Regions from separate parts of the Homo sapiens genome. Here region 1 is linked to region 2. Evidence: promoter capture Hi-C in human tissues and cell types (Jung and others, 2019). All regions are on one chromosome and are shown on one strand. Each heading gives the region's core, a stretch centred on a gene start or on the middle of the fragment in contact. The rest is flanking DNA. Distances are from core to core; before and after follow the strand shown.

What was found. Contacts are between HindIII fragments. The study calls those that stand out against the background at their distance.
Region 1: a contact is called between a fragment that was not itself captured here and the fragment with the promoter of PHLDB3 in region 2, in 1 of the 25 tissues and cell types used here (spleen).

The regions. Positions count from the first base shown.
Region 1 is chr19:43,651,349-43,654,473 of GRCh38, forward strand. PLAUR (plasminogen activator, urokinase receptor) reads right to left here. Exons shown (of 7, transcript NM_002659.4): 6 at 877-1,023. Among named protein-coding and RNA genes, the nearest start is that of CADM4, 13 kb to the left of the region's middle. The HindIII fragment of the contact is 8,598 bases long and covers 1-3,125 here.
Region 2 is chr19:43,503,390-43,506,162 of GRCh38, forward strand. It overlaps PHLDB3 (pleckstrin homology like domain family B member 3), which reads right to left and starts at 1,357. Exons shown (of 16, transcript NM_198850.4): 1 at 1,200-1,357; 2 at 517-743. The coding sequence starts at 729. RefSeq lists an enhancer at 493-1,015 and silencers at 644-893, 1,494-1,553. The HindIII fragment of the contact is 32,375 bases long and covers 1-2,773 here.

The DNA of each region.
Region 1 (3,125 bases), core at 409-2,908, 150 kb after region 2:
TTACAGGCGTGAGCCACCACTCCTGGTTCTCAGTTTTAATTTTAATGTGGCATTTATCTATAGAAATCACTGATATAAACAATAAAGAGTTTTTTTTTTTTTTTGAGACAAAGTCTCCCTCTGTCATCCAGGCTGGAGTGCAGTGGGGTGATCCCCACTCACTGCAACCTCCTCCTCCTGGGTTCAAGTGATTCTCGTGCCTCAGCCCCCTGAGTAGCTGGGGTTATAGGTGCACGCCACCACACCCAGCTAATTTTTGTAATTTTTTGTAGAGACAGGGTTTCACCATGGTGGCCAGGCTTGCTCTCATACTCCTGACCTCAAGTGGTTCTCCTCCTCACCCTCCCAAGGTGTTGCAATTACAGGCGTGAGCCACCACACCTGGCCAAAAATAATTTTTAAAAGCATGAAGAAGTTGAGACCAAAAAGTTTGAGAACCACTGGAATACAGAGACCTTTCCAGGACACCACAGGATGAAAGCCCAAGATGTCTTCAGCAAATCCCCACAACCCACGAGAAATCCACCAAAGAATTCCATTTTTCTTTTTGTAGAGATGGGGGTCTTGCTATGTTGCCCAGGCTGGTCTCAAACTCCTGGCCTCAAGAGATCCTCCGGCCTCAGCCTCCCAAAGTGCTGAGAGTACAAGCTTCAGCCACCGCACCCAGCCGGAATTCCACTTTTCCATGGCAAAAATGTCCACATCCTGATGGACAAGTCCTAATTCCTTACAATAATATTCACCCACCTGAAGGAAATCCCACCTTTTCCACAGGGAGACCCACCACAGTTAACTCCAGCTTAACTGGAAGTCAATCTCTTGCGGAACTCTCCACCCCCAATAAGTGTTCCCTCCCAGCCTCGGAGAGGGCCTCACCGTGAGTGCCGGTGGCTACCAGACATTGATTCATGGGGCCTCGGCAGTCAATGAGGAAAGTCTCTTCAGAGGAGCATCCATGGGTGCTGTTCCCCTTGCAGCTGTAACACTGGCGGCCATTCTGCGGCAGATTTTCAAGCTCCAGGACTTAGGAGAAGACCAGAGACACAGAGACCAAGAAAATTAGTGCTTGGATCTCCACTTCCTTGAATGACCTCCCCAGGACTTCCACTCCGAGCCAGAGATGTCATGGAGCCACCTTGTGGTCAGGCGTCTGAATGGCATTTGGAGGGGGATGGTTTTCGAGGGCTTGAGAGAAACCCCAACTTTCAACTCCCCATGAGTCCCATTTCTGGCCAGGCACCGTGCTGGGTGCTGGGTAAAACTATGTAAGATGAAACTGTCCTTGCTCTCACAAAAGTTACAACTTATTTATTTATTTTTGATACAGGGTCTCAGTTTGTTGCCCAGGCTGGAGTGCAGTGGCGCAATTGTAGCTCACTGCAGCCTCGACCACCCCGGCTCAAGAGATTCTTCCACATCAGCCTCCTGAGTAGCTGGGACTACAGGCGTGCACCACCATGCCTAGCCAATTTTTCTGTTTTTTGTAGAGATGGGGTTTTGACACATTACTCAGGCTGGTCTCAAACTCCTGGGATCAAGCAATCTGCCTGCCTCAGCCTCCCAATGTTCTCGGAGTACAGGTGTGAGCCACTGTACCTGGCCAGAACTTACAAGTTATTACTATTATTATTACTAAAAAATTTTTTTTGAGACGGAGTCTTGCTATGTTGCCTAGGCTTGTCTCAAACTCCTGGCCTCAGGCGACCCTCCCGCCTCCGCCTCCAAAAGTGCTGGGATTACAGGTGTGAGCCACTGTGCCCAGCCAGAATTTACAATTTAGAGCTACACTACCCAATCTGGTAGCCACTGGCCACATGTGGTTGTTTACATTTAAATAAATTAATATTAAATCGAATCTTAAAATTCAGTTCACATTTCAAGTGCTCACTGACCACATACAGTGGTGGCTGTAATATTGGACAGGACAGATAGGGAACATTTCTATCTGTTGACAGTGCTGGGTAATAGAGACAGGGATCTAGATTACACTGGAGGGGAGGGACAGTGAAAGCATCCCTGAAGATGATACATTAAAGCTGAGGCCTAATGGATGAGAAGTTGCCAGCAGGGTGAACTCTTGGGGAAGATGTGTTCTAAGGGAGGATATTCATCTGCAAGGGCCATGAGACCAGATGGGCTTTGGTGATTATAGAAACCAAATGAACGTCAGCACAGCGGCTCATGCCTGTAATCCCAGCACTTTGGGAGGCCGAGGCAGGAGAATCGCTTGAACCTGGGAGGCGGAGGTTGCAGTGAGCCAAGATCACGCCACTGCCCTCCAGCCTGGCTGACAGAGCGAGACTCCATCTAAAAAAAGAAAGAAAGGAAGAAAGAAAGAAACTAAATGAAGGCCAGGTGCAGCGGCTCATGCCTGTAATCCCAGCACTTTGGGAGGTCAAGGCAGAAGGATTGCTTGAGCCTGGGAGTTTGATACCAGCCCCGGCAACATAGTGAGACCCCATCTCTACAAAAGTTTTAAAAATTTAGCTGGGTGCGGCCGGGCGTGGTGGCTCACGCCTGTAATCCCAGCACTTTGGGAGGCTGAGTCAGGCGGATCATGAGGTCAGGAGATCGAGATCATCCTGGCTAACACAGTGAAACCCTGTCTCTACTAAAAATACAAAAATTAGCCAGGCATGGTGGTGGGTGCCTGTAGTCCCAGCCACTCGGGAGGCTGAGGCAGGGGAATGGCGTGAACCCGGGAGGCGGAGCTTGCAGTGAGCCAAGATCGCGCCACTGCACTCCAGCCTGGGCAACAGCGCAAGACTCCATCTCAGAAAAAAAAAAAAAATGTAGCTGGGTGCAATGATGCGCATCTGTAGTCCCAGCTACTTGGGAAGCTGAGGTGGGAGGATCACTGGAGCCCAGGAGTTTGAGGTGGCAGTGAGCCGTGATTGTGCCACTGCACCCCAGCCTGGGTGGCAGAGCAAGACCCTATGTCTAAAGAAAACACAAAACCCCAAAAACGAATCTAAACAAAGACTGTGAGGCAGACAGGTGCCAGATTACATAGGCCAACAGAATAAGGTCTTTGGATCTTATTCTAAGAGGAAGGGGAAGTCATTGAAGTGCCTGAGAAAGGAGGGTGACATGATCTGATTTACATTAAAAAATAAAAAATTGGT
Region 2 (2,773 bases), core at 107-2,606:
ACTCCTGGGCTCAAGCGATCCTCCTGCCTCAGCCTCCCGAGTAGCTGGGATTACAGGCACGCGGCACTGCGCTTGGACAATTTTTGTATTTTTTTTTTCTCTAGAGACAGGGATTTGCTATGTTGCCCAGACTTGTCTCGAACTCCTGGGCTTAAGCAATCCTCCCCTCGGCCTCCCCAAGTGCTGGGATTACAGGCGTGAGCCACCTATCTGGTTCCTCTATACTAGTCTCTCTGTCTCTGTCGCCCGTTTGGGTCTATCTCCGTTCTTGGGGCCTCCCCGTGGCTCTATCTGGTTTCTGTCTCTGTATCTGGTTTCTGTCTGTCTGTGCCTCTGCCTCTCTGGCTCCGTGTCCTGGTGTATCTCTCTCTCAGTAGTCTCTGCTATCACTCGGTCTCTCTCCCTGTCTCCGGGTCTCTGTCTTTCTGGTTTCCCTCTACCTGTCTACCTGTCTGGCCACCTGTTTGGGTCCCCGTCGGTCCAAGCCCCCCGCGCTGTCGCCCTCGGGCCCCTCACCGCGTCGCGGCTGCTCTCAGTGCTGCTGCCTTCTCCCACTTCTTCTTCCTCTGCCTGCTGCTCAGCTCCCCCGCGGCTCGAAGGTTCCGCCAGGACTTCGGATGCCTCCTGTTCCCGGGACTCCTCGGGATGGCCCTGGGGCTGGACCTCCACGTCGCATTCCGGGACCAGCGGCGGCGGGGTCCCCTCCTCGGGGCTGCTTCGCGTCCCCATGGCCGCTGGGACTCCTGCGGGGTGGGCGGGACCAGAAGCTCCGGGGGCGGGGCCTAGGACGGCTGAGCGCCGCTCGCGTCTGCTCCGGGGCGCGGAGACCCCCCCCCAAGGAGGCGGGGCCTAAGAGTTCAAAGGATGGAACTGAGCGTTACGGAGGCGTGTCCTGAAGTTTCCAGAGGCGGGGCTTGATGGCTCCAAGGCGACACGCCACCGGAGACGGGACCGGAATTTGAGTCCGGGTCGTAGCACGCCCCCTACTGACCTCTTCGACCCCGCCTCCCCTCCCTCATCTCTAGGTGTCAGGCCTTGTACCCTCCCAGCAGCCCCCTACAATCTCTTGGATTCGCTTAGAGCGACCCATCTTCTCCCTCCGAGACTCAGCAGTTCGGCTCCCGCCCCATCCTTCCCGGAGCCCCGTAGTCTTAGTCCCGACCCCACTGTGCAGGGCAACCGTGCCCACGCCGCCTCACCCAGGGATCCAGGAGTCGGGGCTCTCCTTCTCTGAACAAGCCAGGAGTCGGAGTCCTTGAGATTCCGAAGTCCAACTGCCACCTCCCCACAGCCTCGGCCCCCTCACGAGCTCAGGCTTCGGCGCGCTCCGCTCTGCGCGCTGGGCACGGCCGCTTCTGCCTATGAGACAGGTGGCAGGGGAAGAGGGAGGAGAGAGGCCGCCCGGTCCCCCTCCCCAGCAGCCCGGAAGTGGAGGGGGGACAACAGGTCCAACAGCTCCCGAGGGAGGAGGGAGCCACGGGCTTGCCCCACCCGTGGCCTCGGCATCCGGCCATCCCGGCCCCACCGGCCCCGGCCCGGCCCCACCCTCGTGGAACTCAGCATCGCGACCTCCCAGTCTCCCTCGAGCCCCTCATTCCTGCCCCCCTGGAGGAGTCTTGGCCACCTCTGTATGGGAGCCTCTCTAATGTCCAGACCTTGGGAGTTCAGAAAGGAAGGCAGGAATGGAGATGGGGACGTCTCCCCTCTAATGAGCCCTTCAGAAGGGCCCTGACCGGTTTGGGGAGCTGGACAAGGGGAAGGGGTGCCCTGAACTGAGTCAGACACCTGCCCAGAGACTGAGGGAAGTGTACCGCCACCCCCCCACAACTTTGCTATGGGGTGGAGGGCAGAGGTTAAAGGTCTCAGCCAGACCCTTTCCTCTCTGGGCGAAAACAGGAAAATGAAAACAGGAAAATAACTGGTATATGAAAAGGGATGATTAGAAGTCAAGAGCTGTGTGAAACACTTTATACCCAGTCATTTAATTTCACCCTCAAAGCTGTCCAGCGAGAAAGTGATTACTACCTCCATTTCTTTTTTTTTAGTAGAGACTGGGTTTCTCCAGGTTGCCCAGGCTGATCTTGAACTCCTGGGCTCAAACAACCTGCCTGCCTCAGCCTCCCAAAGTGTTGAGATTACAGGCGTGAGCCACCGCTCCTGGCCTACTATCTCCATTTTACACTTGGGGATACAAGCTGAGGAGGACAAATGCACCCAAGGTTGGCTGGGCACAGAGGCTCAGGCCTGTAATCCCAGCACTTTGGGAAGCCGAGGCAGGTGGATTGCTTGAGATCAGGAGTTCAAGGCCAGCCTGGGCAACATGGAGAAACCCCATCTCTACTAAAAATACAAAAATTATGCCAGGCGTGGTGGCACACACCTGTCATCTCAGCTACTCCAGAGGCTGAGGCAGGAGGATATCTCGAGCCCAGGAGGTCGAGGCTGCAGTGAGTCTTGAATGTGCCACTGCACTCCAGCCTGGGCGACAGAGTAAGACCCCATCTCAGAAAAAAAAAAAAAAATGTAGCCAACATCTACACATGTTGTAAGTGGTAAAATGCAGGCTTCATTCTCTCAAAAGTCCATGTTCTTAACCATTGCGTATACTGTCACTACAAGCCAGGAAGTACCCAAAAGATCATTCTAAATGATAGTAACTTTAATGGTGAACACTGATAGGCCATGTGCCAGGCACTCACACACATTGACTCATCAGAGCATCACAACACCCCATTATTATTCCTTCCATTTTAGAGATAAGAAAACTGAGGCC